Regions from separate parts of the Homo sapiens genome. Here regions 2, 3, 4, 5, 6 and 7 are each linked to region 1. The links are contacts of gene promoters, found by promoter capture Hi-C in blood cells and fetal thymus (Javierre and others, 2016). All regions are on one chromosome and are shown on one strand. The core of a region is centred on a gene start or on the middle of the fragment in contact, and the rest is flanking DNA. Distances in the headings are between cores, read along the strand shown.

The links. The method cuts DNA at HindIII sites, captures the fragments that hold promoters and counts their contacts. A CHiCAGO score of 5 or more calls a contact.
Region 2: a fragment that was not itself captured here is called in contact with the fragment with the promoter of LYPLAL1 in region 1 in 1 of 17 cell types (total CD8 T cells); the score reaches 5.4 in total CD8 T cells.
Region 3: a contact is called between a fragment that was not itself captured here and the fragment with the promoter of LYPLAL1 in region 1, in 2 of 17 cell types (endothelial precursors and megakaryocytes). The highest score is 5.7, in endothelial precursors.
Region 4: a fragment that was not itself captured here is called in contact with the fragment with the promoter of LYPLAL1 in region 1 in 1 of 17 cell types (M0 macrophages); the score reaches 8.9 in M0 macrophages.
Region 5: a fragment that was not itself captured here is called in contact with the fragment with the promoter of LYPLAL1 in region 1 in 3 of 17 cell types (M0 macrophages, monocytes and M1 macrophages); the score reaches 10.2 in M0 macrophages.
Region 6: a fragment that was not itself captured here is called in contact with the fragment with the promoter of LYPLAL1 in region 1 in 2 of 17 cell types (M0 macrophages and endothelial precursors); the score reaches 7.0 in M0 macrophages.
Region 7: a contact is called between a fragment that was not itself captured here and the fragment with the promoter of LYPLAL1 in region 1, in 1 of 17 cell types (M0 macrophages). The highest score is 7.5, in M0 macrophages.

What each region holds. Positions count from the first base shown.
Region 1 is chr1:219,171,583-219,175,945 of GRCh38, forward strand. It overlaps LYPLAL1 (lysophospholipase like 1), which reads left to right and starts at 2,296. Exons shown (of 5, transcript NM_138794.5): 1 at 2,296-2,399. The coding sequence starts at 2,309. It overlaps LYPLAL1-DT (LYPLAL1 divergent transcript), which reads right to left and starts at 2,206. Exons shown (of 5, transcript NR_038845.1): 1 at 1,888-2,206. RefSeq lists enhancers at 2,127-2,176, 2,257-2,586. The HindIII fragment of the contact is 2,433 bases long and covers 961-3,393 here.
Region 2 is chr1:219,996,978-220,001,340 of GRCh38, forward strand. It overlaps EPRS1 (glutamyl-prolyl-tRNA synthetase 1), which reads right to left. Exons shown (of 32, transcript NM_004446.3): 17 at 4,161-4,278; 18 at 6-365. Among named protein-coding and RNA genes, the nearest start is that of EPRS1, 47 kb to the right of the region's middle. The HindIII fragment of the contact is 193 bases long and covers 1,841-2,033 here.
Region 3 is chr1:218,365,929-218,370,291 of GRCh38, forward strand. All of the region lies in intron 1 of TGFB2 (transforming growth factor beta 2), which reads left to right. Among named protein-coding and RNA genes, the nearest start is that of TGFB2-AS1, 22 kb to the left of the region's middle. The HindIII fragment of the contact is 3,691 bases long and covers 157-3,847 here.
Region 4 is chr1:218,450,930-218,455,292 of GRCh38, forward strand. No RefSeq gene overlaps it. Among named protein-coding and RNA genes, the nearest start is that of TGFB2-OT1, 10 kb to the left of the region's middle. The HindIII fragment of the contact is 2,064 bases long and covers 734-2,797 here.
Region 5 is chr1:218,468,496-218,472,858 of GRCh38, forward strand. No RefSeq gene overlaps it. Among named protein-coding and RNA genes, the nearest start is that of TGFB2-OT1, 28 kb to the left of the region's middle. The HindIII fragment of the contact is 4,047 bases long and covers 17-4,063 here.
Region 6 is chr1:218,488,412-218,492,774 of GRCh38, forward strand. No RefSeq gene overlaps it. Among named protein-coding and RNA genes, the nearest start is that of LINC02869, 20 kb to the right of the region's middle. The HindIII fragment of the contact is 3,592 bases long and covers 817-4,363 here.
Region 7 is chr1:218,520,381-218,524,743 of GRCh38, forward strand. LINC02869 (long intergenic non-protein coding RNA 2869) reads left to right here. Exons shown (of 3, transcript NR_146760.1): 2 at 2,973-3,070. Among named protein-coding and RNA genes, the nearest start is that of LINC02869, 12 kb to the left of the region's middle. The HindIII fragment of the contact is 4,426 bases long and covers 1-4,131 here.

The sequences.
Region 1 (4,363 bases), core at 1,046-3,545:
AGAACAAATCAGGAACTAATAGCAGTAGACTTGGGAAAAACTAAAGAAGCACAGGAACACCTAATAAATAGAGACTCTAAAGGGCCACAATACAAATTCCAGACTTTTGTTTTTGAAATAAGAGTTGCGACATGCCCTTGCTTCATTTCTGTGCACTCATGTGTAAATGTGGGTAATAGTTAAGAACCTATGCTCTGGAGTCAAGCCCAGCATGTGAATCCAGGTTCTACAATTGACTGGCACTATGACTTTGAGCCAGGTTCCTTACCTCTTTGAGCCTCATTGACAAAAGCAGATAGTAATAGTACTGAGTTTTATTGGAATTAATTTATGACAGTTTTTGGCACCTACTGAATCCCATGAATATTAGTTGCTTATTATTATTAATAATCATTACTCTTAAATAATTATATTCTGATTTTTTGCTGTCTCAAAAGCGTGGGGTGGTGTACAGTAAGATTTTCAGGTAGTAAATGGAGTTCTAAGAGTAGAACTTAAAGCCTTCCCTGTATATCTCCAAGTGGTCTTTCCTAGTAGCACTGCCCTCTTCTCACCTGGCTAGGGAAGGTTATCTAGAACTCATACGGGGAAGGCAGGTCAAAAGACAGAGGTTTTTCTTTTAAGAATTGGCTATCAGAGCTCAGCCTACCCTAGTTTGTCCTCCTCAGGGACTTCACTTATACAACTCTCTGCTGCAGATCTATGGGCTTTGGAGAAATGACTCAGAATTTCTTTTTGATTTGGTTAACTAATGGCATGTAGGACCATTCTTGTTGATGGTATTGTTATTAATATAACACCATGATAGCTTAGAGCTGATTTTGGCAACTAATGTTGATAGTAAACAGTTTACTTACCTGTAAGTAGGGTGATTACCTGGAACAAATAAAAGGTAAGTTGTAATTGCTAAAATGTAATGCAGACTACAATGAATGGAAGGCCAGTGTTTAATGGTACTTAAGCTTTTACTGGGTTATTTTGTTGAATTTTACATGAGGCAAGAGCAACCTGCTGGGGCCACTGCCTTCAGTATTAAAAGATACCTATGTTTTGGACTTTATACAGGAAATAATTCCATTTCTTAGTATTTTTAAAATTATGGTAAAATACACATAAAATTTACTAGGTGTATAGTTCACTGGCAGTTATTAACACTGTTGTACAACCATCATCACTGTCCATTTTTAAAAATGTTTCACTATCTAAGCAGAAACTCTTGTACTCATTAAACAACAACCTCCCAACTCCCTCTTCCCTTAGTCCCTGGTAACCTCTAATTTCACTTTCTGTCCCTATGCATTTGCCAATTCTAGATATCTCATGTAAGTGGAATCATACAATTATTTGTCCTTTTGTGTCTGGCTTCACTCGGCATAATGTTTTCAAGGTTCATCCATGTTGTAGCATGTATCCGAATCACATTCTTTTTACAGGCTGAATAATATTCCATTCCAATATGTACATAGCACATTTGGTTTATCTCTCCATCTGTAGATGAACATTTGAGTTGTTTCCACTTTTTGGTACTTGTGAATAATGCTGCTACAGAACACTGAAGTACAAGTATTTGTTTGAGTCCCTGCTTTCATCTCTTTTGGGTATATACCTAGAAGTGGAACTGCTAGTACCTATGCTAAGTCAATGTTTAACTTGTTGAGGAGCCACCAAATTATTTCTATTGCCGCAACATCATTTTACATTCTGATCAGCTATGCACAAGGTTTCTAATTTCTACACATCTTTACTAATACTTATTTTCTGTTTTTTTGATAAGAGCCATTCTAATGGGTATATAAAGCAGAATCTCATTAAATTAGATTTGCTTTGTAAACTATTTATTAAAAATAAGAGACACGAAGAGAACTTATTATTATATGCTTCGCTTACCCTGTATATCAAGAGCTGCAAACATCCTGTGCGAGTCCCAAAGTGAAAGGTAAAATATGGTTCTATTAAATTTTAAACATAGTAACACGAATATTTCTCCAAATAAGGTAATCTTGAGTTTTGGGATTGCATTTAAAATTCCTACAGCAAATGCTCAGGATATAAACATATCCATTAGTCATTACAGAAGTCCACACGAGGCTGACACACGTAGAATACCATTATTAGCAAAACTAAACTCAGTACAGTTACAACTGCCTCAAACTTGACCCCAAAGTATTGAAAGCTCCTCAGAGAGCGGGCCAGCAGCGCTGCGCATGCGCGCTCCCGGGCGTGCTCCCGCGCGTGCCTGCGTATTTGCGTGCGCGGCCCCGCGCGGCAACGCAGGGGCGGAACCGCATGACTGGCAGTGGCATCAGCGATGGCGGCTGCGTCGGGGTCGGTTCTGCAGCGCTGTATCGTGTCGCCGGCAGGGAGGCATAGCGCCTCTCTGATCTTCCTGCATGGCTCAGGTGGATTTCAATTTTACGTCCTGGTTTTCTACAGCTCGGGAAACATCCTCCCCTCGGTTACCCCAGTATTGCCCAAGTGGAGGTGTCGCCGGGCCCAAATAGGGCCCAGTGGGTGGCTCCCCCGTCGCCAGCCCCGGCTGTAGATGCACGGGCAGCGCCACCTGCCCCCAGCCTCCCCCGTTAGTCTTCCTCTTTCTATCGGGCGGTCACTGGTCCACCACCCTCGCTTTGGGGCCTTGTGTCCCGCCGCTCAGCCAGCCCTCCATCCCCACAACACACCTCCCCATTCCTCGCCCCAAGTTTAAACAGAGCAAGTTAGTAAGGTAAGTCTTCTGCTAGAGGGAAATTATTTAGTGTTTTTCATTATCAGCTACTAGTGATTTTTCAGTCGTAATTGCCCATTGCTTTTTCCAGGCTCCCATACTAATGTAGACAATTGAGATTCACAGTTAACTTAGATACTGTTTACAGATTATCTCTTTTCTGTAAGCCACTGTGCCATGGCTGGAGTGCTTTCTCTCACTTTCCTTTTTGCTGCTTCTCTTTCCTTCCTTTCCCTTTCCCGCCTGTGTCATTAAACTTCCAAGATAGACTACAGGGGCAGGACCCCCAGGGACAGGCATCTTCCACTACCTGCCCTTAGTAACGTGTGCTTAATGCTGTATCGTTACTTAACACTCATCTGTAATCACTTTTGTCTGTCTTCCCCACTGGATTGTGAACTTCCCACTGGATTATGAGAGTAAGGGCCCTTGTGTCAACCTTTGCACCCCCAGTGCTTGGCCCAGGGTAAGCTCTCAGGAAATGTTTTTTAAAGAAATGAGATGCAGCCGGTGTCCTCAGGGGGCCTACCTAAAGTTAAAAACAAAAACAATCCAATTAGTTTGAGTCAGCAGTGCATGGAAGATCACAAGACGGTGCATGGTTTCCTGCCAAGTGAATTGTAAGAGAAAAAAATGTGGTTAGGCATTATTAAGGCATTTGGAAGATGAAAAGCTTGTCAGACTTTTCGAAGAAAGTGGTCTTTGAGCCGAGACGGGTAGGCTTAAATGGGACGGTGATTGGAAGGGAATTGGAAAGGTACTGGGCAGAGACCTGGAAAAGGGCAATTGTGGGAGGTATTCTCTTTATTTTGAAAATGAGGCCAGACAGGTTCAGCAGCTTGGCCAAGGTCTCTTAGCTGTTACTGTGAGTAGTGGCGGATTTGGGATTAGAACCCAAAGCTCTCCGACCTCAAACTCAGGGCTTTGGTGGGGTAAGGTGAAAAAGTTTGAACTAGGATATATTGTTTTGGAGATAGGGAAGAAGAGGTCCAATAGTGTTTAAAGGGAAAGACGGCATATATTTAGAAGGTGACGTGTGTAAGATGACAGCGGTACTTAATAACTAGGAGACTGGTAGTACTATTTAGGGCTCCAAGAGTGTTCATTTATAAGTACCCAGAAATTCCCCAACACTGTACCCTTTCTCATAATCAATTCTCATTATCTTTAGGAAGAACTCCTAGACTATGTTCTTTTTTCCCCTGGACCTCTTTGCTTAAAATAATTATCCTTTTTTTGAATTTCAGATTACATTTTTATAACCTGTAAGGGTATGTCTCTAAAATTCAGAGTCATGTATGTATGTATTTTTTCCTTTGTACTTTGAACCAAGAATTTATTCAAAGAATTCTGCCAAGTATGCGAGTATAATGTGATTCCTATATATTTAAATCTCCACTGAAGTAAATAAAACCTTATTGGGAGTAGGTCTTTATCATCTTTATCGTTGGGAGTAGGTCTTTATCATCCAGTAGGTCTTTAGCAGCTAGTGATTTTACATTCAACTTTAATGTATGTGGTTATGTTATAGGAGATGTTTGGTTTCTGCTTAACTAGAATATGGGCAAACCAATTCTGTTTTATCACACTCAGTTTTGCCATACTGTTAACCAGTTTTAACACTTTTACTATGGAATAAAG
Region 2 (4,363 bases), core at 687-3,186, 830 kb after region 1:
CTGACCTTAGGGGATTTTTCAGCTTTTAGCTTACGAACCACCTCCCCTTGTGCAGCAACTTCATCATACAGAGATTTACTTTCCAGAATACTTGCTGAGGAATTAGAAGAAATATTCTGTCCTATTTCAGCAGGAGGGTTTCCAGGTTTATATTCCTGGCCAGTTTTCTCCTTATATTCAGCTTTCAAAGACAAAAGCTGTTTTACAGCTGCATCTACATCTTCCTTTGGTGCTTTCTTGGCTTTTAATTCACGAACCACATCTCCTTGAACAGCCACTCTATTGTAAAGGACCAAGGAATCCTCAGATGTAGTACAATTATTATTCAGAGAAGGTGTTGGTCTTTCCTTAAAAGGAGCAGAGGTCTACCAAGAGAGAAAACCAAAAGTAAAATAATTAATTCATATTAAATGTTTTCCCACAAAATTATTTCAAACTGATTGTTTTATAATGTTTCCAATTAAAAACAGAAACTTTAAACTTCAATCCCTTAAAAAGCTTAAATGAATAATCTCCTAAGTATTTATCCTAATGAAAAATGACAGGCGTAAACAAAGATAGAGGTACCTACATACTCACTGAAGCATTTTTACTATAGTAAAAACCTGAAAATACCCTAAATCTTTGTCATTAGGGGACTAAAGAAATTATAACATATCCATCAAGTTTGAGAATAAATCACTGCTCTACCACATACTCACTGTGCAACTTTGAGTTATTTTAAGCTGTTTCCTTACTATAAAAGGGGGATAACCATACTTAACCCATCAAGTTGATGGGAAAATAAAAAGTAATCTGTGTAAAGCCCTTAGTCACAAAGGCTGAGAAAAAGTGAATATCAATAAGCATTAGGTATCACTATTAATTTTTTTAGAGATGAAATACATCTAGATTGTTGATAAGGCAAGAGCTCCATCAAACTCTGTGATATAATTGTAACTCATTGTTGTGGAACAGTTTCATTTGTGTAAAATTATAAATTTACAGGTATCTATTTGTGTATAAAATCTAGAGCTATGTTCACTAAAATCAACCCTGAAGAGTGAATAAAGATACTATTTTTATTCATGCTTTCTGCTGCCTAGACTGCATTCTTCCCTACTGAAACCCTTCTAACATTAAAACCCAGCTCACATTATACCTTTCTTTCAGCTTTTTTCTTTTAAATGATCTGCCACTTAATTTTTCAGAATAATCTTATCCATATTCACAGTCTTATGTACAAATTCCAAAAATTTTCATCTCTATTCCAGAATTCTGTCCTGATCCCAGACCCAGCATTTTCAATGTCTTCAAGACATCTTTACCTAGACACTTAACAGGCATCTCAAGCTGTATCAGAGTTGCATTTTACACAGGCGTTAGGCTCTCAAAGTGGGCATGTCAGTAAAAAAAACCCATCGCTCAAAATTCCTTCCCCATAATTCCTTAAATCACTCATATTTATTTTTAGTGAGATTCTATATGTACACTCAAACACTAATATGCATATATAAATGCATATACATTAAATAAATAATACAATTCATGTAGCCACCCTATATCAAAAATATATATTTGTTCAGCTACATTTTTTTTTTTTTTGAGACAGTGTCTTGCTCTGCCGCCAGGCTGGAGTCCAGTGGTGTGATCTCAGCTCACTGAAACCTCCGCCTCCCGGGTTCAAGTGATTACTGTTCCTCAACCTCCCAAGTAGCTGGGATTACAGGCCTGCACCACCACACCCAGCTAATTTTTACATTTTTAGTACAGACAGGGTTTCACCATGTTGGCCAGGATGGTCTCAATCTCCTGGCCTCGTGATCTGTCCACCTCGGCCTCCCAAAGTGCTGGGATTACAAGCTTAAGCCACTGCGCCTGGCCTGTTCTGCTACATTTAATTTGCAACATAAATCATCTCATTCATGGTTAGTAAACAGGGGAACATATGAGTGTAACACCAAAAAAAAAAAAAAAAAAATCACACTGCCTTGTGTGTGATTTTTTCCCTGTGTATTCCAGTTTTATGTCAAATAAAGAAGCATGCAGGAACAAGCTTTTCATAATTAAAGAGAAAACTTTAGAAATACATTGACAATCTGAAGAAAAACCCAAAAACCTTTCATATAAGTGCCTTCCTTTAATGAGGATGATGCTTAAAAAACATTTTTTACCATAACATTAAGCCCTGGATGAGAATTTAATTTTGATAGTATCAGCCTCTATTGGAGAAAAATATCCTCAAAGATCTACACATCACAGGGAAAAGCATTATTATCCTTCAGGTTTAAAGCTGCAAAGGATCTCTGACTGCAAAGTTGGGTATAAGTGGCAGTCAACTGTACCTGAATATTGAATTTCTATTCAAAAGTGTGCAGGTTTCAAAGCATGTCCACAAATTTTTTGACTTTCCTCCCACCAAGAAGGGGGATCTCTGTGCCCTTTCCTGAATCTGAGAAAGCTTGTTACTGATTTGACCAACAGAGTACAGCAGAAATGATGTTATGTGAGACTTACAAGTCTAAATCCTAAAATGCAATGCTACTCCCACCTCATCTACTGGACACTCACTTTTGGAGGCCTTAAATGATAGTTAAGAAGTCTTATTACCCTGCCACTGTCATGCTAGAGAGGCCACTTGCAGCTATTGCAGTCAACTATTCCACCTGAGCTCCCAGCCAACACCAATATCAACTTGGCATCCAGGTGAGGAAACAATTTTAGAATCCAGCCCAGGCCAGGTGCAGTGGATCATGCCTATAATCCCAGTACTTTGGGAGGCCGAGGTGGGCAGATCACCTGAGGTAAGGAGTTCAAGACCAGTCTGGCCAACATGGCGAAACCCCATCTCTACTAAAAATATAAAAAAATTAGCTGGGCATGGTGGTGCGTGACTTTAGTCCCAGCTACTTGGGAGGCTGAGGCAAGAAAATCGCTTGAAGCCAGGAGGTGGAGGTTACACTGAGCCAAGATCATACCACTGCACTCCAGCCTGGGCAACAGAGCAATACTCTGTCTCAAATAAAATAAAATAAAAATAGAATACAGCCCAGTTGAGTCTTTGATGACTGCTACCCAGCCACCATCTGACTGAAACCACATGGGATACATAGGTTTTTAGTGGTTTGCCTCAACTCTGTTTTTCTTGAAAAATCGGCTGTTATTTTCGGTATGTGATTTTGCAGAACATGAAGTTTTTCAAGAACACATACTAACTTATAGCATAACACCAGTTATCTTTCTAGGATATGTAAAAAATGATAGGCACAGATGGGAACTGGAACCAATGAGGGAAAAGCAACCAAATTTCCCATCTCATGCTTACTCCATGAGTTATTGAATAATATATAGTAGCAATTTTCAAGGTGTGGTCCACAGACCCCAAGGGGTATATAAAACCCTTTTAAAGGGGATCTGCAAAGTCACAGCTATTTTCACTATATTACGATGTATTTTGTCTTTTTCGCTCTCATTCTCTCATGACTGTTTGTACAGGTTTTTAGAAGCTATTAAGTCAGATATTAAAGAGATCTGTAAAAATTTAAAACCATACCGCTCTTTTAACTAAAATTTTTATTTTGGAAAATTTTTTTTAATAAAAACTTTTCGTATGTTAACATGTAACTGGATTTATTATTTTTACATGAATTAAATCCTTTTAAAACTTCTCAATTTTTAGTATGATAAATGCTGATAAATATAACCCACATAAGCAAATCATTCTTAAGAGTATAAGGGGTCTGGCCAGGCACGGTGACTCATGCCTATAATCCCAGCACTCTGGGAGGCCGAGGTGGGAGTTTCACCTGAGGTCAGGAGTTCAAGACCAGCCAGGCCAACATGGCAAAAGCCTGTCTCTACTAAAAATACAAAAATTAGCCGGGCGTCATGGTGCACGCTTGTAATCCCAACTGCTCAGGAGGCTGAGGCATGAGAATTGCTTGAACCCGGGAGGCGGAGGTTGCAGTGAGCCCAGATCGCGCCACAGCACTCCAGCCTTGGGTGAGAGTGAGATTTTAAAATCTTACATGAAAGGATAACAACAAAATGCAAAGAGCAAGACTTAACTGTCTTCTTCAGTCTCCACAGTAAGAAAGATAATCATCTGTAAAGAAATATATTCTAAACCCTGGGATAGAAAGACCATTTATTTTTATACACATATCCGTAAAAGTCATTACCTCATTTTTTGTGGCTTCTACTTTGGTCTTTTCCTTTGACCCTGATGTTGGCATTTCCTTTGTGTGCCCATCAGGAATGTATATCAAAACACACGGGGCTTCCTTGCAACTATATGGGCTAAAAAGAAAATAAAGGGACAAAATAGTTTATTTGAACAAAATTATCTGAACAGCAATAAACACTGAATTCCTAGATAAATTCA
Region 3 (4,363 bases), core at 752-3,251, 810 kb before region 1:
CTCTAACCTGGGTGTTGTTGATAACGACGTGTTCTGACACTGACAATTGGACTGGCAGCTCTGATGCTGCATCAGCTTTAAATTAAATACCCTGGAGGAGAAAATAGTCCATGCTCCTCACAGCCATGTGACTGCGAAATCATTTTTCTCTTTTCAAGCTTATTATCCCCAATAATATTGGTTAAGATGTGGTTAGCCTGCCTAAAGGTTTTCCTATTAAGACATAAGAATCCAGTGTGTAAGCAGTAGAGATAAGTCTCTCTATGAAGGAATGGATTAATAGTCATGAAGGCAAATATAATTTTTTAAAAAGAGTATTTACTGAATAAGAGGCTTTTAAGTAACTTGGTTAAGATTTAAAGGTGGTATTTCTCTCTCTCTCTCTTTTTTTAGAGACAGAGACAAGGTCTCTCTGTTGTCCAGGCTGGAGTGTGGTAGCATGATCATAGCTCACTGTAACCTCTAACTCCTGGGCTGAAGCAATCCTCCCACCCCAGCCTCCTGAGTAGCTAGGACCACAAGTGTGCACCACCACACTGGCTAATTAAAAAAAAAATTTTTTTTTAGAGATGGGGTCTTGCTATATTGCCCAGGCTGGGCTCAAACTTCTGACCTCACACAGTCCTCCTGCCTCAGCCTTCTGAAGTGCAGCGATTATAAGACATGAGCCACTGCGCCTGACCCGAGGTGGTGTTTCTCAAAGTGTGATATGCATTTCTGTCTCCTGGGACATCCATCAGATTTCTTGGCCCCATTTCAGAGCTGCCAAGTCAGAATCACTGGGGTGGGTGGAGCTGAGGACTCTGCACATTTTAAACAGGCACTGCAGGTGCTTCTGACGTCACTAAAGTTTGCAGCTGCTCAAGTCAAAGGATGCTCTGATTATGCACATCTGTTTACTCAGTCATACCACATGGATGGATTCAGATCCAGTGGACTCTCTGTTTGATCAGCTGGTCCTTCAAGTGTGACCCTGAACCTACAGCCCCTGTGGAGTTTTTGCCACGTGCTTTCCATTTTCCCAAATGCAGGCAAATATTGAGGTAGTTTTTAATAATATTACTTGTTATTAAGAGTACCACACATACCCTCTGCTCACTGTTCATCACAGAGGAGAACAATGAGTGTGCAAGGAAGTAAATTAATCGTGTGTGGGTGTTGGATGTTATGTATTTCTGCACTCAGATGCCTTCAACCGGGCAACGGTGGAGTGGGGAAGGGACTTTCAAAGCTAGTGTTTAATGCATAAGTGACACATACCATGTATAAGGTAATATGTAATTCCCTGAGGTAGCATTTGGCCAAAGCGCTGCTGACCTCTTGGTGGCCTGAATCGTGTTCTGAGACATTCCATGGGGTAAGGACCTAGCAAACAATGGAATGTAAACTTTACTATCTCAGCCAAACTCAGCTTTGGGTAACTGCAGGTTTCTCTTTCCAAACAGTGTTTTGTTCAACCAGAGGCATTAGAGCAGGCAAGAATCTGACCAACCTATTAAGAAGCAAAGTTAATGATAAATCACTTGGTATTTTCTTTGTGCAACCCTGTGCCCCCTGGTATTCTGATGTTTTTGAACCACCTAATACTTTGAAGACAACTGTACAGTATGGATATTCTATAACTACCGTAGATTTTTTGGCTATTGAACTATTTACAGAAATACCCAGTTCTCGTATGTGGTCTACATCACTAAATAATCTGATTGAAGTGTGAGAAGAATGACTTGATAGTGTTCATTTTACCTCCGCATAAGTCTTCAGTTAAAAGAGCTGTACATTAACTGCAAATACAGATATAATTTTAAGATAAATGTCAAATGCATGTAGAGACCTTTGGAAGAGAAAGGTGAAGAGAGGACGTTCATTTTTTTTCTTCTTCTTCTTTTTGAGATGGAGTCTCGCTCCTCGCTCTGTCACCAGGCTAGAAGGCAGTGGTCCATCTCAGCTTACTGCAACCTCCGCCTCCCAGGTTCAAGCAATTCTCCTGCCTCAGCCTCCTGAGTAGCTGGGACTACAGCCGCACGCCGCCACTCCCAGCTAATTTTTGTATTTTTAGTAGCGACAGGGTCTCACCATCTTGGCAAGTATGGTCTCGATCTCTTGACCTCGTGATCCGCCTGCCTCAGCCTCCCAAAGTGCTGGAATCACAGGCATGAGCCACCGTGCCCGGCTGAAGAGAGGACATTCTTATGATATATTAGTTCATTCAGCTGTATTTATTTTATTTTATTTTGAGACGGAGTTTCACTCTTGTTGCCCAGGCTGGAGTACAGCAGCGTGATCTCGGCTCACTGCGACCTCCACCACCCGGGTTCAAGCAATTCTCCTGCCTGAATCTCCCGAGTAGCTGGGATTACAGGCACACACCACCACACCTGGCTAATTTTTAGTAGAGACGGGGTTTCACCATGTTGGCCCCACTGGTCTCGAACTCCTAAACTCAGGTGATCCACCCACCTTGGCATCCCAAAATGCTGGGATTACAGGCATGAGCCACCGTGCCCGGCCTATTCAGCTGTGTTTATTGAGTATTTACTTGTATCAGGCAGCAGTCTAGCTGCTAGTGAATTGAATAGCAAAAATCCTTGCCCATGGGGAGCTTACATTCTGGTGGCATAGGATAGATAATCAATAATAAAGATGAAATAAGAATTTAGAATTGGATAAATGTTTTGCAGGGGAAGTAGAGATTGGTCACAGGGATGAGGATGTGAGGTGTAATTTTATATAAGCTGGGCATGGATGAATTTGTTAAGAAGGGAGTGCATGTAAGCAGACACTTGAAGGATGTTAGAGAGTAATCTGGGACTACCTGGGGAAGGGCATTCTATTCTGTTCCATTCTGGCAGAGGGAATAGCTGGTTCTGTTGTGACATGTTCAAGGATTGTCAAAAGTATCCTAGGGATGAGATTAGAGAGATAATGAGGGATAAGTGATGTGGGGCCTTGTAGGCCATCATCAAGTCTGTGGCTTTTCCTCTGACTAAAACGGAGAGAAGAGTGGTTTTAGCCAGAGGGCCGTGTAGCTGTTAAGAATGGTATGTTGGGCCGGGCACGGTGGCTCATGTCTGTAATCCCACCACTTTGGGAGGCCGAGGCGGGTGGATCACAAGGTCAAGAGATCGAGACCATCCTGGCCAACATGGTGAAACCCTGTCTCTACTAAAAATACAAAAATTAGCTGGGCATGGTGGCATGCATCTGTAGTCCCAGCTACTCAGGAGGCTGAGACAGGAGAATCACTTCAACCCCGGAGGTGGAGGTTGCAGTAAGCCGAGATCGTGCCTCTTCACTCCAGCCTGGGCAACAAAGCAAGATTCCGTCTCAGAAAAAAAAAAAAAAAAAAAAAAAAAAAAAAAAAAAAATGGTATGTTGAATGGCCAAGGTGGAAGTAGGAAATTCAGTGAGGAGGTCTTCGTGATGCATCAGGATGGCACTTGGCAACTGCATTTCTATAGCAAGAATCTCAAACAGACCTGCCTTATGCTGAGTTTTTCCTTTAGCAAACAGTTTGATAGGCAGGCTACAGTGGGTTTTGTATTTAGAAAATGTTTTTCTGTTTGATGGTTTTTAGTTAATAGTCCTTAGTTATTGGCAACTCACCCCCTTCCTTTCTGAGGAGCAGCCAGTTCTGCAGCCTTCTGTGTGTGAAAATAACCCCTTGGGTCTCCCATCTTGTGCTCACGCATGTGGAATGGCAGCTACTGGAGTTCGTACTCGCGGTGAAGCCTAGTCATGGCCGTCTTTGACATGATGGCCAGGGACATGTGGCACTATACCCATAGCTGACCATACTTTGGCCTAGGAGAATGTCAAACTGCCTTTTCCGGTGTGAAATAGAAAGTCAAGCTTGGAAGGATCCTTCTTTGGATCTGTCCAGCTGTGCTCTGCATGCAATAGAAGGGCTTTTGCCTAAACTTTGAAATGAGGTCATAAGCCAGAGAATTTGTAAAACTATGTCTCTTATCAGTCAAAAAGAATTTCTGTGGGACTGAAGTTTGCTTTCTAATTCTTAAGCTTTGAACAGGAAGACTTTACACGGGGATGTTGGTGTTATTTCTTCATCCATCTGTACAAGAAACATGAGTTGAGCCTACTGTGTGCCAGGTGATAGGTGTAAGAAAACTGCATAGATCCTGTCCTCAGGGAGCCTGCACTTAGTGAGGAAGTCAGGCAGACTAAACCAACCAAACAGAAACAAAAAGCCAACCCTGTGGTTGATGACAAGGAAAGCATCTGAGAGGCCAGAAAAAGAATTGTACAACTTGGCCTAGTGGTGAAGGAAGCCTTACTGGGGGAGATGATATTTACCTCTTGAAAGATGGCCTTTGAGATTGTAGTTTGGTAGTCATCAAGCAGCAAT
Region 4 (4,363 bases), core at 516-3,015, 720 kb before region 1:
ACTTTCAGAGCAAACCTCGCACATTTCTGTATGGATGGGCACTTCCCCCTGTACTCACTGATCCCAAACCAGGGCACACAACAGTCACCTTGACAGCTTCTAAAATTACAGATTTTCAGGTCTATCCCAAACCTACTGGGTCAGACCATTTGGGGGAATAGAAAGGGAATTTTATAGTAAAGGAGAAATATATTCCAGGTAAATCTGATGCAGTACAATGCTAGCATTTGTCAATTACTAACCAAGTGGGATATAAATGTATGAGGAAATCTTCGCAAAAATGAGGCCATTTCAATGAAAGATATTTTCATGATAACTGCAAATATTTGAACTACTATCAGAAGATGAGGATCTATGATGTGGTCTGGTAACAGACTCATACTCACTTCTCCAGGAATCTCAATCATATCAACTCCATGCTCTGTTAAGAGATGGTTGTATATCTGCCCAGATCTCTAAAAGCAATGTTGCCCATCTCTAAAAAAAGAAGCATCTTTCTCCCCATTCTATTGCATGGCAAGGTCAGGGTTGGAGGCCTTGGGAAAATGTCAAATATCAAACATGAAATGTTTAGAAGATCACGGTTTGTCATTTCCCAAAAAAGACGTATCCTAGGACAAAAAGGAGAATTGTTCCTTCACATGATGGTGCCTGCAAAAGGTTGCCATGGAAGTCTGGCGATTGGGGCAGTCTGTGATCCATCATCTCAACTAGACATTTCCTGTGGGCTTGAAGCTTTCTATGGGAACTTTTTTGAATGTTTCTCTTGTAGAGAGCCCTTCCCTGGTGGCAGCTTTTGATTTTACTTCCCCAACTAATGGTTTTGGCTTTGCTAGTAGTCCCCAGCCAACTCAGTCTCTTCAGTTAAAAAGAGCAATTCAATTCTGCAATTTTCTTTTCCAAAAATTAAATTAATGAGTTGATTAGTTTTAGGTAGCCAAAATAATAATTATTATTTTTACATGTTCAACAACTGTTTTGGTATCTGCATATGCACCTTTAATGAGGAATGTTTCTGAGGTAAGAGGAACATTATCTGAGCTTACTACATTTGAAATGAATGTTTTCCCTACTATGTTGTAGTGTTTGGTTCAAGCATCTGTTTTCCTCCCCAGCACCTGTCTGCCTGGTGCAGAGGAAAGGAGAATGAATAAGCAAAGAACTGATTTGTCTGCGTAGCCCAGTATTTACTACTTAATTGGTTGCCAGGGACCAGATTGCCACAGTTTATTTCTGAAGAAAACAGACGTTGCAATGAGAATGTAAGTACTTGACCTCTGGAGTCGTGCGATAAAATGTGTGAAAATGTCAACTCATAGTGCCTAGCACACAATAGGTGCTCCACAGATGTCCGTGTCCATTCTTCTTCTCCCTAATCATGTTATATGCTTACCTCATGACATCTTTCTTAGTGGCAAATCTCCCCCTACAGATAGCTTCTATGCTTTCTTCAAACCCATTCCAATGATGCTTGCTTGACAGCTATTACCTGGCCATCAGGCAACACTTGTGTAAGTTGCTCATCAATTAGGAGGCACTCACCAAAGCCAGCCCAGGTTCATAGATCCCTCTTCTATACTCACAACTCACCAATTACCCACTTCTTTTGGAAAGCTGCCCTGGCTACAACTGTGCCAGAGCACCCCAGAGGGGAATTGGCCATTGTCTGATGTCCTTGGAGGAAGGAAGGCATCTGCATTTTTAAGGGAAGGGGAAGACAGTGGTGTCCTGACACCTGTTGAAACTTTGGCATCCTGGGAGTTCACTCAGCTGGTTCTTAAAGGTTGTCTGTCTCTTGCCATGGCAGAACACAGTTGTTTTTAAGGAATGTTTGGATAAAACATTTTCCAGGCCACATTTATCCCCCTGCAGGACTATGTTATATGTGACAACATTCCAATTTTGAGGCATGACTTGTGCCAATCCAGACCGGCAATTAGAGCTGACACATTCCATGAGTTATTGGTCAAGCCCTCAAGAGACCAGAAAGAAAACAACAAAGGAAAACTTTACCAATAAAGGGAACCAATTGGAGTTGTGCATGAAGCCTTCAAACAGAAGTTTCTTCCTCAACTTCTCTTGTCTTGTACTGTCTTACTATGTCTTCTGCCTAAAACCTCCACAAGTCTAGGTGGGACATGGTGGTGTGTTGGATGCTGTGCAGTGTGGCTAAATGTGGTTGATCTTCGTGGTACAACACTTGAACATGGACCACCTGAGCTGGAACTTGCAAAACTCAGGAACCATTTCTGACAAATATAGTTCAAAACCTCAAGTCACATCCAGTGACATCAAAGCCTGAAAGCAGCCCTTACACTATAAAGTGCAACAGAGGTGCATGGAAAGAATCTGTCTGCCCCCACCTCCATGACAATCTACTAATCATCCGATGTACAACGTGCACAAATTATGTAGTGAACCAAAATCCCTTCTGGAGAAGGTGCTGTGACATCATTTTCTAATTACAAATACCATTAACTTTTACCTAAGTCTCTCACACAAACAAAATGCTATTTCAAGGTTTCTATGATCTTTGGAAAAATCAACCAGGAGTTCAAAAAGGAAGCCTATTCCATGGATGGTTGTGGAAATTTCCATAGTTCTAGGGGCCTGATTCTCTGATCACTGACCTATTTTTATCCCCTGAGTATCTATGCAAGTATAATTATAGGATGTATTCATTGAACCATTTGAATTAATAGGAAGTCTAAATGCAAGCTATCATTTAAGAATGCAATGTCAATGTTTTCAAGTATTCAGTGTGCAGTGACTCTAGAACAAAGTGTTATATAATAGAAGCTTTGGGAAATCACACAAATGATGTAGATAAGACGCAGAAGAACTATTTTTAATTGTCAGCTTTTGGTATGTAAACAGCTTTTGAAGAGTTTTAAATTATTATCACATATGTTTAATAAGTTCAGTGCAATCTTTTCAAGCTTTGTTAAAAAAAATTATTTCTGATACCACAGTCAACATACTGTCTTGGCACTATTTTAAAAATTCATGTTCTCTCCTTAAGCAGAATGAATTTATACACTCTCTCTACCGAGAAACAGTACACATTGTTGGGCCAGGCACAGTGGCTCACGCCTGTAATCCTAGCACTTTGTGAGGCCGAGGCAGGTGGATCACTTGAGGTCAGGAGTTGCAGACCAGCCTGGCCAGCATGGCGAAATCCCATCTCTACTAAAAATACAAAAATTAGCTGGGCAGGGTGGCACACACCTGTAGTCCCAGCTACTTCAGAGGCTGAGGCAGGAGAATCACTTGAACCTGGGAGGTTGCAGTGAGCTGAGATCATGCCACTGCACTTCAGCCTGGCAAGACTCCATCTCAAAAAAAACAAAAACAAAAAAAAACAGGCCAGGCGCGGTGTCTCACGCCTGTAATCCCAGCACTTTGGGAGGCCGAGGCGGGCAGATCATGAAGTCAGGAGATCGAGACCATCCTGGCTAACACGGTGAAACCCCCATCTCTACTAAAAATACAAAAAATTAGCCAGACGTGGTGGCGGGTGCCTGTAGTCCCAGCTACTAGGAAGGCTGAGGCAGGAGAATGGCATGAACCCAGGAGGCGGAGCTTGCAGTGAGCCGAGATCACGCCACTGCACTCCAGCCTGGGCGACAGAGCGAGACTCCATCTCGAAAAACAAACAAAAAAGAAACAGCATACATCATGATTATATATAGCAGCAAAATAAAATACTACATTAAACCACATAGACTATCCACAGAAATTTAATATATAAATCCAAAAACCCACATAGACTTATGATAAAGCAACAATAGATTACTAAATCAAGGATGATCTATTGTATGTGGGGGTGACTTAAGTTTGTTTTTACAAATATTATTCAATTTTAAAAGCAAATCATTATGCACTTGGACAGCATTGAGAGAAGATGAGAAATGGTTGCCAGAGAAACATCTCTGTTTTGGGTAAAAATTTAAAATATGATCTCTATTATGTTCCTTATGGTTCCACACATAAAATACCACATAATAATTTCTCTTATAGTCAACTGTTAATAAAATATAAATCTTTCCTGATGTCACAGGAAACTTTCTTAAATGAGATTATAAGAATAAAATGCATAGATTATCTGTTTTTATCTTGGCTGCCAGTGAGCTCAGAGCTAAATTTTATAGCTTACCACAGGCATTTCCTTAGCCTAGCCTAGGTTGTCAGGTAGAATTTTCTCCTTTTTCGTTCTCTGCTTTCTATTACTTAACCCCCATTCTGTTACCTCTCTTTTGCTGCAACTCATATTTTTCTGGAGATAGGAAGGAATGGGTAATACCAATAAAAGGAAAAATTAACATTAATGAAAATGAAGACCGTGCCAAGCTCAGTCTCCATA
Region 5 (4,363 bases), core at 790-3,289, 700 kb before region 1:
CCCAAAAGGACAACCAAGCTTATCAGATACCCATAGTTTATAAGTGTCATAATATGATGCAGAATGTTTTGAGGTTGGTGATGGAATAAATGTTATGTTTTTTGAGCAATTACCATCATCTGTATAAAGTTTTATTTTAGAAAGCCTAAGAAGAAAATTAAAAGGTCAAGAAGAGACCAAATCCTTTATTCTTTTACTATGGGAATGTGTCATTAACAGAAAAAAAATTGTGAAACACTTATTTACTTTAAAAGATACTTAGAATTTAAATTATATATAATCTGGGAGATCTTTTCTCCTGTGTAGTTAGTTACTAGTCACAGGTCATTATCTCCAAGAGTGTAAATCAGACTTCCTCTATTGTTATTTTCTCAGAAGCTGCTTAAGTCATAGCTCTTCCTTTAATTCCGCTTTATACTCGTAATTAGAAGTGCTAACACGATAAATGTCTACAGTGATGTTGAAAAGAATGATGGTCACCTGACCTTTTCTTCTATGTTAAATATGCTAGTTCCTGTTTGTTATGACAGAAGTGTAGCACAATAGTTAAGATTATGGGTTATGGAGACACACATATTTTTCTCATAAAGTCATGTGTGTGCGGCTGGGTACAGTGGCTCACACCTGTAACCCCAGCTTTTTGGGAGGTTGAGGCTGGAGGATTGCTTGAGGCAAAGAGTCTGAGATCAGCCTGGGCAACACAGCAAGACCTCGACTCTACAAAAAACTAAAAATAAAAAATTAGCCAGGCTTGGTGGCACATGCCTGTAGTTCTAGCTATTCACTACTTGGGAGGCTGGGGCAGGAGGATCACTTGAGTTCAGGAGTTTGAGGTTACAGTGAGCTATGATTGTACCACTGCACTCCAGCCTGGGCTGGGCAACAGAATGAGATTCCATCTCTTAAAAAGAAAAGTCATATGTGTATAGAAGTGCTCCATTATTAAAGGAAAATGGTATAAATGAGATCAGCTTGAAGCAGGTATTGAAGGCAAAGGTAAATTGCACATGCAAAGGCACAGATGTTGACTAAAGAAGAAACGATTTCAGCCTGGTTTATAGATCGCTCTTGATGATGTGTGGTCAATGCCCAAAAGTAGATAGCTATATCCCTATAGCCCCACTCTGGGGTGGCCCTAAAGACTGTGGTAAGGAAAAAACCTACCAGCAGGCAGAACTTCAACAAGTGCACCTAGTTGCTCATTTTGCTTGAAAGGAGAAAGGGCAAAAAGTATGGATGTACAGTGACTCATTGACTGTATCTATGAGTATATCTGGAAGGTTAGGGACTTTGAAGAAGCCCTATTAGAAAATTAGTGAAAAAGAGGTCTGGGGAAAAGATTTGTCGATGGACCTCTTTGAATTTGCACCAAAGAGCAGTCTAAGCAGAGGAGGATCTCAATGATCAGGTGTATGAGATAACCTGTCTTATGGACATCAGTCAGTTTCTCTCTCCAGCTACCCCCATCCTTGCCCAAGGGGCTCTATGAAGAAAGTAGGCATAAAAGAAAGGGTAGAAGTTATGCATGGGCTCAGCAACATAGATTTCTACTCATTAAGGCTGACTTGGCTTCAGCCACTGCTAAGGGTCTGTCCTACCAACAGCAAGAACAACACTTGTATGGCACCACTACCTGGTGGGTTTAAGAAGGCACCTGGTTGGAGGCTGATTATATTGGATCAATTCCATCAGGTTACAGACAGCACCAGCACTTTGTTGTTACTAGAACAGACATTTACTCTAGATTTAGATTTGCCTTAACTTCCTGTAGTGCCAATACTACCATCTATGAACTCACAGAATGCTGCTATCACTACACATTGCTGCTGACAAAGCAATTCAGTTTACAGCAAATTAAGTGCAACGTGGGGCTCATACTCATGGAATTTAGTGGTCTTTCTATGTTCCCAATCACTATAAAGCAGTCGGCATGGTAGAACAGTGGGATGGCCTTTTGAAGACTCGGATACCGTGCCAACTGGATGTAAATAACTTGGAAGACAAAAGTAATATCCTCCAGGATGTTTTATTTGCTCTAATTACTGACTAATATATAATGCTCTTTCTGCCAGAGATAAGATTTACCTATTTAGGCAAATGCACCTCTCGAATCCTGGAATGGCAAATCCTCTCTATGGGAATAATAGTTATTCTCCTAGACATAAACTAGTGGAATTTTTGTTTCCTGTTCCTGCTCCGTTAGTCTAGAGGTTTTAGTTTCCAAAGGAGTGAGCACAGTAATGATTTCAGTAAACTGGAAGTTGAGAATGCTACCTGAGCAGTTTCATATGGAGCACTGTGGCAAAGTAAGCCAGTTCTTCTGCAGGTTATACACATATCACTGAAGTTGAGGTTTGGGGGTGAGAGGATAACACAGGTTCCAGTTCATCCTCATAGATTCCAGCTTATTCTCATGGATTTAGTTTGTCTTTGCTCTTCCCTACTTTATGTCTGTCTTTCTTTCTTGTCAGCCTGCTCTGTGGACTTTAAGCCCAGCACCAAATGCAAAAGCAACAGCAGTAAATAGTCTAGCCCGTTCCTCTAACTGTATGATGTCAAATATATATCACTCTTAATAATTTTCTCTGATTGAATCTTAACTAACCAATCAATTGGGAATCCAATATCTGCCTCTAACTATACATGTGAACTTAGGCGAACATCTCTAAGCCTAGGTTTCCTCATTTATAAGATAGGAATAACATTAACTACCATATAGGATTGTTGTGAAGATTTTATGAGCTAAGGGCTGAGAACTCTGCAAGGCATATAGGAAGCACTCAGTAAGTAGTTACCACTATTTACAAAACTTGGCTTTGACTCCAGCTGATTTTACATAGCATCATGGAGTTTTGGACTGGAAGAGATTTTGAGAAGTCATCTGAACCGGTAGCTTGGCCTAAAAAGTCCAAACTTCCCAGATCTTACCCTTCCTGGCTTAAAGTCACTATACTCAATGTAATTTACAAGATGTGTACTGGAGCGCAATTCATTATTGTTTATTACCACTGAGAGAGAGGTTTTAAAACAAACATTAGATTTTACAATTTGAATGTTGTTCTTCAAAGTAACTTTTCTAAATTTGTTTCCTTCTTCTTCTATAAATAAGGACATTGGAAAAATTTATTTTCAAAGTTCCTAAACTGTAAATTCTAAAATTCTGTAAAGATTAACTGAAAGGCTATTTATTCATCTAATAAAGATGTCTTTGCTTTAAAGATATTTTTGGGGTGTTTCTGCTTAAACATCGTCTTCAGAATTGGTTTTTGAGGCCCATCCAGAATAAGTATCTCATTTCATTATCGCTAAATCTTGTTTGTGACTTAAATGCAGTTTACATTATGAGATGGCATGAGAAGACTTGGGGCTGTTTCTAAACATCTAAGGATGAAGATGGACCATCATTACAAATGTTCTGATAAACATTACCAAAAATGAGGTTCCAAAAATCTTTTGGGTGGTATCAATACTTGAAATATCATTAGAGTTTAATTTAATATTTACCTCGGTAAATCAGAGGAAGAGGAGACTTAGTATATGCCCTAAATTGGAATCTACTTAACAGTTAAGAAGTCTAAATTCAAGTCCTGGTTCCAACATTTACTTGGTGTATTCTCTCAGGAAGCCACTTCATTTGTGGAAGTTTTAGGAACTTCATCCATAGGGTGGGAATAAGGTATCTAGCCAGGCTTCTCATAGAGTTATGGTGAGACGTAAATGACACAGTAAATGTAAGAACACTTTGCTCCTTTGAAAGTACTCAAGACTCTAAAACAGGGGTTGGCAAACTATGGCCCATAGGCCAAATCCAGCCTGTCATCTGCCTTTGTATAGCCCCTGAGCTAAGAATGGTGCAGATGAACATTTGCACCAGTTTGCTAATGGGAAACATTACATTTAAACCCCAACTATAAAAAATATCACTTCCTCCAGGCCCCCTTTAAAGAATTTCTTTCTTCTCATTAGTAGATTGGTATTACAAAAAATTGTGCTAAATTACTGTTATTATATTTTGCATTTCATTAGTAAAAATTTTGTAGATATTTGTATTCTCCCTTGTATAAGCTTCTATTTAATATCCTCTATTTTACCTCTTGGTTCACAAAGACCAAAATATTTACTATCTTATCTTTTACAGAAAAAATGTGTTGATCTCTGCTATAAAGTGTTGTGCTTAAAAGGGATTTGTATTATTAGTAATAAATATAGTCATTGTTCACAAGCAAAGGTTGCTGTAAACTATTTGTTTGCTTTTCCTCCTAGTTATATTAAATCTGTTTGTTTATACCTTTAATTACTATAATACAATATTCTTTCTTACAAACAGCAAAAAAAAAATGAGAGAGAGAGATATCTGTTACTT
Region 6 (4,363 bases), core at 1,363-3,862, 680 kb before region 1:
GAATGAATGAAGGGTCTGATGAGAGAGAGGTGACTAAACAAGTATGGCTTTGTAATTAAGAAAAGAAAGGAAGAGAGAGAGAAAAAATAAATAAATAGCAAAAACCAAAACTCAAATATATTTTTGATACTGAGTTATAAACATATAGTGTCTCATTAAGGCTTTGTTAAGTAAATCTGGCTTGGGAAATTGTACTTCAATCACTTAGATATGAAATACGAGGGAAAGATGAGTAAACTACACAGTATTGACCACACAAACAGTGAGTGAGAGACCAGATACAATCTACCCAAAGCTGGACTCCTGGGTATATATTTGCCCAATTATTTATTTATTCATTCATTCATACAACACCTGCATAAGTGCCATTTGGTTCGATACAAAACTGACAAGGTGACTACTTTTAAGGAGCTCACCATGTATCTACTCCAAATATATTCAGCGACTTCCCTCTCCACCCCCACTCTAAATGTGTATGTTCTATAGCATAAAATAAAATGAGAAAATACTAAAAAGACAACATTTTAAGGGAGTTTGATACTATTCTTTATGTGTTGTCAATAGGAATTTAAGGATGCCCACTTAATTCGTGATTTTGTCCCCAGACCTGGGAATTCACAAATGATTCTGGAATTTCCTTCAAACAAGATACCTTTCCTCCAAAGGCATTTGTACATCTCAGGAATGTAGTTAGTGGCAGCTGCTCCCCCCCCCCCCACCCCCGCCACCAACCAGGTCTAATGTCATAAACTCTGCAGGAATCCTGTCTGTGGTTCTGCACATTCAGGACTCGCAATCAGTCCTTACATGGGCAAAAGCTTGTTTGCTCTGCACTTGCATTAACCTCAGATCAGTTAAGCAAACCCAAAAACACAATGGCTTGGGTATAAGATACCATTCTACTTAGAGTGGCCTAAGATTTCTAAAAATGCCCACAGCAAGCAACTCAGGATGACTACCCAAAATGTAGATAGAGTAATAGGGAGATGTGTTCTAGCTAAAATCAACCAATAAACAGAAAACTGGTAACCCATGTCTGATGTTCTAATCCAATGTTGTTGTTGTTTTTATTTCATTGTTCTTGGTGAATTCTATTGAAAAGCAAAGATTCTTTTCAAATTCAAAGAAATTTTATTATATTATACAATGACTGTGTAAAAATTAAGATTATATAGTGAAGCACACTGAGCAGGGATGATAAATAAAATATTTCACTAGAAATGCATTCAACAGTCAGAACAGATACTGACCATAGACAACTGCTATGTTTGTACTGGTGCATATTAATACCAGCCCTGCTTCTGTGCTGAGCTCACTGATTTGTGTTACATGAAAATCACACTATATATCTCTTACAGGTGAAGATCAACACATAAAACATCTAAATTACATTTAATGCCCATTATACAGGTGAATAACAACATCAAACACAAGAATATTTATTCTTTGTCCCAACTTCATCCATTTCATCTTCTCTACTAGACTATTTCTATTAATATAAAAGCATATTGTATATTATGTCTTCCTAGTTAAAAAAACACAAAAAAAAGCCCAAAGCAAAATATTTCCTTTATACTATACTATCCTCTGTCTACTCTGTTCTACTTCTTTTCCTTATAGCAGAATTTCTGGAAATAATTTTTTCACACTCACTGTCTTCCTTTCTCTTTCTTTTACTTGCTCCTGAATCTCCTTTAATTGGGCTTTCCTCCCTCTTCTGAAAATGCTCTCATTAAAGTTACCAGGGTCATGCTCATTGCCAAATCAATGGGCACCTCTCAGACCTCCTCCGTGTGAATGTTTGCAGTATTCAATGCAGTTGCAGTTGGTTTCACTCTCCTTATTGAAGCATTCTTCTTAGCCTTCTTTGCTGAATCCTTCACTTTTCAGTTTTGAATGACATGTACACTCTTGGAGATCTCATCCAACTCCCAGACTTCAGTGACTACTTCTACAGAAACCTCCCCAACAGGGAGGCCTTCCTTGACCACGCACCCTGCAGTAGCAACCATTGCCTGTCTTTAGTCTCTTGCTCTGATTTGTTTTTCTTCATAGCACTTATTACTACCTACTGTTCTATGATCTATCTAGCTTATCTCTATTGTTTGCCTATTGTCTGTCTCCTCTGCCAGAATACAGCTCCAGAGGATAGAAACTATCTTGTTTACTGATGTTATTTTAATACCTGAAAAAAGTGCCTGTCCCAGAGTATGGACTCACTAAATACTTGCTGAGTAAATAAATGAATGTTCACAAATGGGGACTAAAAGGCTAACAAGCAAGATCTTTTTCACGCTATGTAAATTTATGAAAAGTGACCTTATTTTAATTTGCAATGGCAAATTATGGAAGGGCTTGGTCAGGTCTGCCATGGGTCAAATCCAGCCATGCTTGCTTGCTTGCTTGCTTGCTTGCTTGCTTGCTTGCTTGCTTGCTTGCTTTTTCTTTCCTTCCTTCCTTCCTTCCTTCCTTCCTTCCTTCCTTCCTTCCTTCCTTCCTTCCTTCTTTCTTTTCTTTTCTTTTCTTTTCTTTTTTTTTTGAGACAGCGTTTCACTCTGTCGCCCAGGCTGGCGTGCAGTGGTGCGATCTCAGCTCATTGCAACCTCTGCCTCCCAGGTTCGAGCGATTGTCCTGCCTCAGCCTCCGGAATAGCTGGGACTACAGGAGCATGCCACCATGCCTGGCTAAATTTTTGTATTTTTAGTAGAGACAGGGTTTCACCATGTTGGCCAGGCTGGTCTCTAACTCCTGACCTCAAGTTATCCACCCACCTCAGCCTCTCAAAGTGCTGGGATTACAGGTATGAGCCACCGTGCCTGGCCTACACATTTCTTTTACATATTGTCTGTGACTGCTTTCCCATTGCAGTGACACAATAGAGTAGTAAAGGCAGAGATAATGTATGGCCCACAAAGCCAAAAATACTTACTACCTGGGACTTTCCAGAAAAAGTTTGTTGGCCCCTGGTTTATTATACACATTAGGTAGGCAGTAAAATGTAAAGGTTAAGAGTATAGCTCTGGAGCCAGATGTCCTAGGTTCAAATGCCATTTCCTCCTTTGCCCTGCTGCAGCCTTAGTTAAGTCACCTCTCCTCATTCTGTCTCAGTTTTCTCAACCATTAAATGGAGATAACACCAATACTAACCACACTGGGTGGTTGTGAAGATAAAATGAGTTAATACTTGTGAAATACTTAAAATCTTCCAGAAATATACTCATGAATATTACTGTATGGTGAGAAAGTAATTGAAACTGGTTTGAAAGAATTGAGGGCAGGTATATCAAAGTGTAGCTATGTGCATTTAATTTATCCTGACAGACATATTACAAACGACTAAGTTCATTTCCCTCCTTCACTGGTTCATTCTGTTGGATCTTGGGTTAGTTGGTATGAACAGATACATTTTCCTTCTGTTGCAGATGGAAAAATTTACACGTAGACTGTGTTTTTCCTTAACTAATTTTTGCGGGATACATACAAAAAGCAAATAATCGGTGTGTCATCTACTGTCTGTTTTGATGGAATTTGGGAAAAAACTCAGCTGAAATCAGACAGACAGGCACTGTGTGGGAGTCTCTATGACGATTTGTCTGGTGGTCCCCTTTTCACTGGATTTTACCCTGTTAGGTGGACAGTGTCAAAGGCATCCTAGGATGACTCCCCAAGCATCCTCGTAAATTTCCTCCTCTGGTCTTGGTCTTCACACTTGGAATCTCTGGTGTGATTTGTCCTGTCTGCTCTTCAGTGTCCAGGTCAAGTTCTTCCTCTTCTGGGATGGCTTCCAGTGAGCTCTCCATTCTGTCAATGCCTGTGACCCATTCACTTGTCCCCTAGCTGAAGGCACTTGTTAACTTTTTAATTTTTAATCTTCTAAAAAACATCCTATTTTCACTAACTAGAGTTCTATTTGATTGAGGTAAGGGATTGAACCTTCCTCCTTGGTATGCTCAGCACGTAAGAAGAGTGCCCTACACAAAGCATCTGCTTGGAATTGGCTACCATCGATCTATCAATGGAAATTCTTTTTTTGTTTGTTTGTTTTTGAGACATAGTCTCACTCTGTCGCCCAGGGTGGAGTACAGTGGCATCATCATAGCTCACGGCCCTCATGAACTACTGGCCTCAAGGGATCCTCTAAAAGTGCTTGGTTTAACAGGCATGAACCACTATGCCCAGCTAATTGACAGTAGTTCTTAATGTGGTTTCTGGGGTGCAGCACCTGCCAATGTCTTCTGCCTCCTGCATCTTGTTCTCACGTTCTGTGCTCTGGCTATCACGCTCCAACCTTCCATGCTCACGTCCTCCTCATGCTAGTCCCTATGTCTGAATTGCCCTCTCCTCATCTTCACATTGTCAACTG
Region 7 (4,363 bases), core at 669-3,168, 650 kb before region 1:
TCTAAGGAAAGGTATGTGTAGCTGGCGGATAGCTATAGTATGTGTACACACTTATAGTATGTGTGAACACTTATAACACTATAGTTTCGCGTAATTTCAGTACCTGGTTTCCAAGCTGCCAAGTTTCTTGAACAGAGAACGTGAGTGAAATTTGAAGCCAGAGGGAAGATGCGAAGAGATTATTAGCTTTTCAACTCTGTTATTTACAATTCCTGTATTTCTCTTAAGGATCCAGAAAAGGAAGTGTCTGAAAAAAAGAACATTTTGCTTAGAACTGATACTTTGGCATTTGGTAATACTTACTTCTCTTGTTTTTTATTTTTTTAGATGGAGTCTTGCTCTGTTGCCCAGGATGGAGTGCAGTGGCATGATCTTGGCTCACTGCAACCTCTGCCTCCCCAGTTCAAGTGATTCTCCTGAGTCAGCCTCTGGAGTAGCTGGGACTTCAGACATGGGCCACCATGCCCGGCTAATTTTTGTATTTTTAGTAGAGACGGATTTCTCCACATTGGTCAGACTAGTCTCAAACTCGTGATTTCAGGTGATCCACCCGTCTTGGCCTCCCAAAGTGCTGGGATTACAGGAGTGAGCCACTGCACCTGGCCAGTAAGACTTATCTTAACACACTTTTTGTTGCTGTTATTTTTGGCACAGACCTTTTTTTTTTTTTAATCATTTTTGGAATCACAATTGTCTTTTTAACTTTGAAGTGTTTTCCCTTATATCTGGAAGACGGGGCGGGTGGTTCAGTGAGGTATCTGAGTTGGTGGAGATGTCTATGTTGGAAGGCAAGTTGGGAAGAGCAACGCAGAACATGGAGAAGGCTACTTTGGGAAGTTGTGGGGGTGCAAATGATATATTTTCTGCTGTTGAGAAGTCCGGTTAGCTTTGGCTTTTGAGAGCGTCACTCTGGGAATGTGCATATGTCTGTGTGTGGGGGCAAGAAGGAGGCCACACCAGTGGGATTATAAAGAGGCTTTGAATTGTACCCCCACCACTCCACCAGAATTGTTAGAAACTTAGTTCCCAGATATCCACTCAACCCTCTTTGGCAGGATCCCTGGGAGGCTCAGTTGTCCTTCTTGGAAGCCAGTAAAATTCTTTGTTGGTGGTTGTGGAGGCCAGCATCTGATCAGCTGCTCAGTAGCCATAGCTGCTGCTTCTGTTGCCCTGGCTGCTGGACTTGGAGGCTTCCTGGTTGCTAGTGACTTGGCTTGCGCGGCTGCGCCCTGTCCCTGCTGGGGCTGGTTTATGTGGCTCTGATGGTTATACATGCCGAAGTCACTCCTCTCCTATGTGTTCCTCAAGTGCTCTTCACAGTGGAGCCAGGAGAACCTTACTGTTCTTTCTTCAATTCCCAGTATGGCCTCACTCTGTTTCTTGCAGCGCCCCCTAGTGTTAGCACACTTTCATTCAGTTATCTTTTCCATCTGTCTCTTGGCTCAAGTTCCTACAGATCAGGGTAGGAATCACATAGGATTGTCCTATTTAGCAAATAAAGATAGAGAATGTCCAGTTAAATTTGAGTTTCAGATAAATAATGAAGAATTTTTTAACATAAGTATGTCTCAAATGTCACATGGGACATACTTATACTAAAACATTCTTCATTGGTTATCTAAAATTCAAATTGAATTGGGTGTCCTGTATTTTATCAATAAATACTAGATTCAAATTAGTGATCTTCCCATTTCCAAGCCCCTCGTTACACTTAGAATATTGCTAGTGTAACAGATCGCATATGGAAAAGAAAGAAATTGGCTCCTTTTTAAAGCAAATTTTAGTATACAAGTACTCTGAGCAATGCAGCTGTGGACCAGGGCTAAGTTAATATGCTTTTTAAGAAGCATGGTTTCCTTAAAGTTTAATATCCAAAAGCTAGCTCCATAGTATTATAGTTTGAATTTCCAAAAGCGTGGACATTGAATTTGGCTTGCGAATAAATCTTTAGGAATTGAATAACTTTTTATTTACATCAAATGAGTAGTAGAATCTAATGATTCAGACATCTGAATTGTGAAAAGTCAAAATATTTGTATATTGATTGGGTCATACAAGGTCATTTTATGGGAAATGTAATGTGAGCAATTATTTTCTTTTTTTTTTTTTTTTTTTTTTGAGACAGAGTCTCGCTCTGTCGCCCAGGCTGGAGTGCAGTGGCATTATCTCGGCTCACTGCAAGCTCTGTCTCCAGGGTTCATGCCATTCTCCTGCCTCAGCCTCCCGAGTAGTTGGGACTACAGGCGCCCGCCACCACGCCTAGCTAATTTTTGTATTTTTAGTAGAGACGGGATTTCATCGTGTTAGCCAGGATGGTCTCGATCTCCTGACCTTGTGATCCGCCTGCCTCAGCCTCCCAAAGTGCTGGGATAACAGGCGTGAGCCACCGCACCCGACCTATTTCCCTTTTTTTTTTTTTGGATGTAAAAATGTAATTCATTTTAGGGGGAAGGGACATTGTGTCTGCATGGTGGCAACAGTTTAGTGAACAGATCCACAAACGTCTGTCAATAAAAACAAACAACTTCCCAAAAGTCCATCAATGGGACAGCTCCACATATCCAGATAGATAGATACATCGAAAGATAAATAGATAGATAGATAGATAGATAGATAGATAGATAGATAGATAGATGATAGAATGAATAATATTCAGCCATCAAAAGAAAGGGGATTCTGATACATGCCATGGCATGGATAAACCTTGAGGACATTATACTAAGTGAAATAAGTCAATTACAAGAGGACAAATATCACATGATTCCATATATATATATGATAAGGTATATTCTAGATGCTTATAAAAGAAAGGTACCTAGAATAGTTAAATTCATAAAGACAGAAAGTAAAATGGTGGTTGCCAGGGGCTAGGGGGAGGGGAGAAATGGAGAGTTGTTTAATGGTGTGAGTTTTTTATTGTATTTATTTATTTATTATTTATTTTTTAAGACGGAGTCTCATTCTGTTGCCAGGCTGGAGTGCAATGGTGCAATCTTGGCTCACTGCAACCTCCGCCTCCTGGGTTCAAATGATTCTCCTGCCTCAGCCTCCCAAGTAGCTGGGACTACAGGTGCGTGCCACCACCCCCTGCTAAAAATAAAGACAAAAATAAACTGAGTCTGCAGAGGTTAAATAAATATTCGAGGAACAAGTGTTTTAGACAGGGAGACAAGAGAGCTGCGAGCAGGGAACTTTAATTCAGAGAATTTCGGTTTGCTGAGAACATGAAGTGTGAGGAAGGCCGGAGGGAGCTTCAATAACTACAAACATGTTGCTTTAATAATTTGATTACAGATTGAGAAAAAAGGTTTATTTTCTTACTTACCCATCATTTTGACAAATTAGAGTAATAAGGGAGATGTGTGGATAAGGATTTCTGACAGCACTGGCACTGGGGAAAACAAATGTCACTAGCTATCTCAGTAGGAGCTGCACAAAATGCAATTTCCTTTTTCGTTCCTTTTGTATTTCCTGATTTTACCTACACGTGTTGTTCTTGCTATATGAAGTCATAAGAATATTTAACTTCTAAATGGGGGACAGAAATAAATGAGAATAGTCAGACTCCAAATATAACCATTTAGAGCAATGATAAAATGATATTTCAAATTAATGAATAAATCATTTATTACATGCTACTTCCTTAAACAATGTCTTTAACATGATGTTAATGACTCTCTTTTAGTAAATTGTTCTCCAGGTAATTCCCACCTGATATTTTTCTCCAAGAGACAATTTTAGTCCCCAGGAAGAAGCCTACATTTTGACACTTTTGCAGCCAAAAGACTGGGCGGTTTTTTGGCTGACACCATAATTTTAAGAAGTGGTTTTTCTTTTGTAAAAGTAACCTGGAGTCTTCAAACAGCTGGCAACTTTTGGATTTTTGTGTAAAATATTTAGGGAAGAAATGTGAAATATTCAGTATAAAATATCTCAGTTCATAAGCTGAGGTGCTACTGATTTAAGTAAAGTGGAGAATAAAATAGAGTCAGTGATTTACTCAGTTTACTCATTCATCCCATTCATTGATTCACTGGGCAAATATGAATCAAGGATTTACTAGGTCAGGTAGTATTTTGAGTTTGATTTTGGTGGATGAGCAGTCAGGCCTTTTGAGTGGAGATACTGTGAAGCTTTTGTTTCCCTGGTAGTTTTCTTTTTTGTATGAATTATCTAGATAATTGTGTAAACCTTCATATTAACTTTGGCTGTATATTGAAGCAGATAGTCTGAGTCCTAACACTGAAATGATACTCCAGTACATTGAGAAGGAAGAAAGCAATGTTACCGATGCTTAAATGCCACGGCATCCTGCCCACAAGAGGCTCTTGGGCATAGCTTACATTTCTCTGTCTCATTGCAC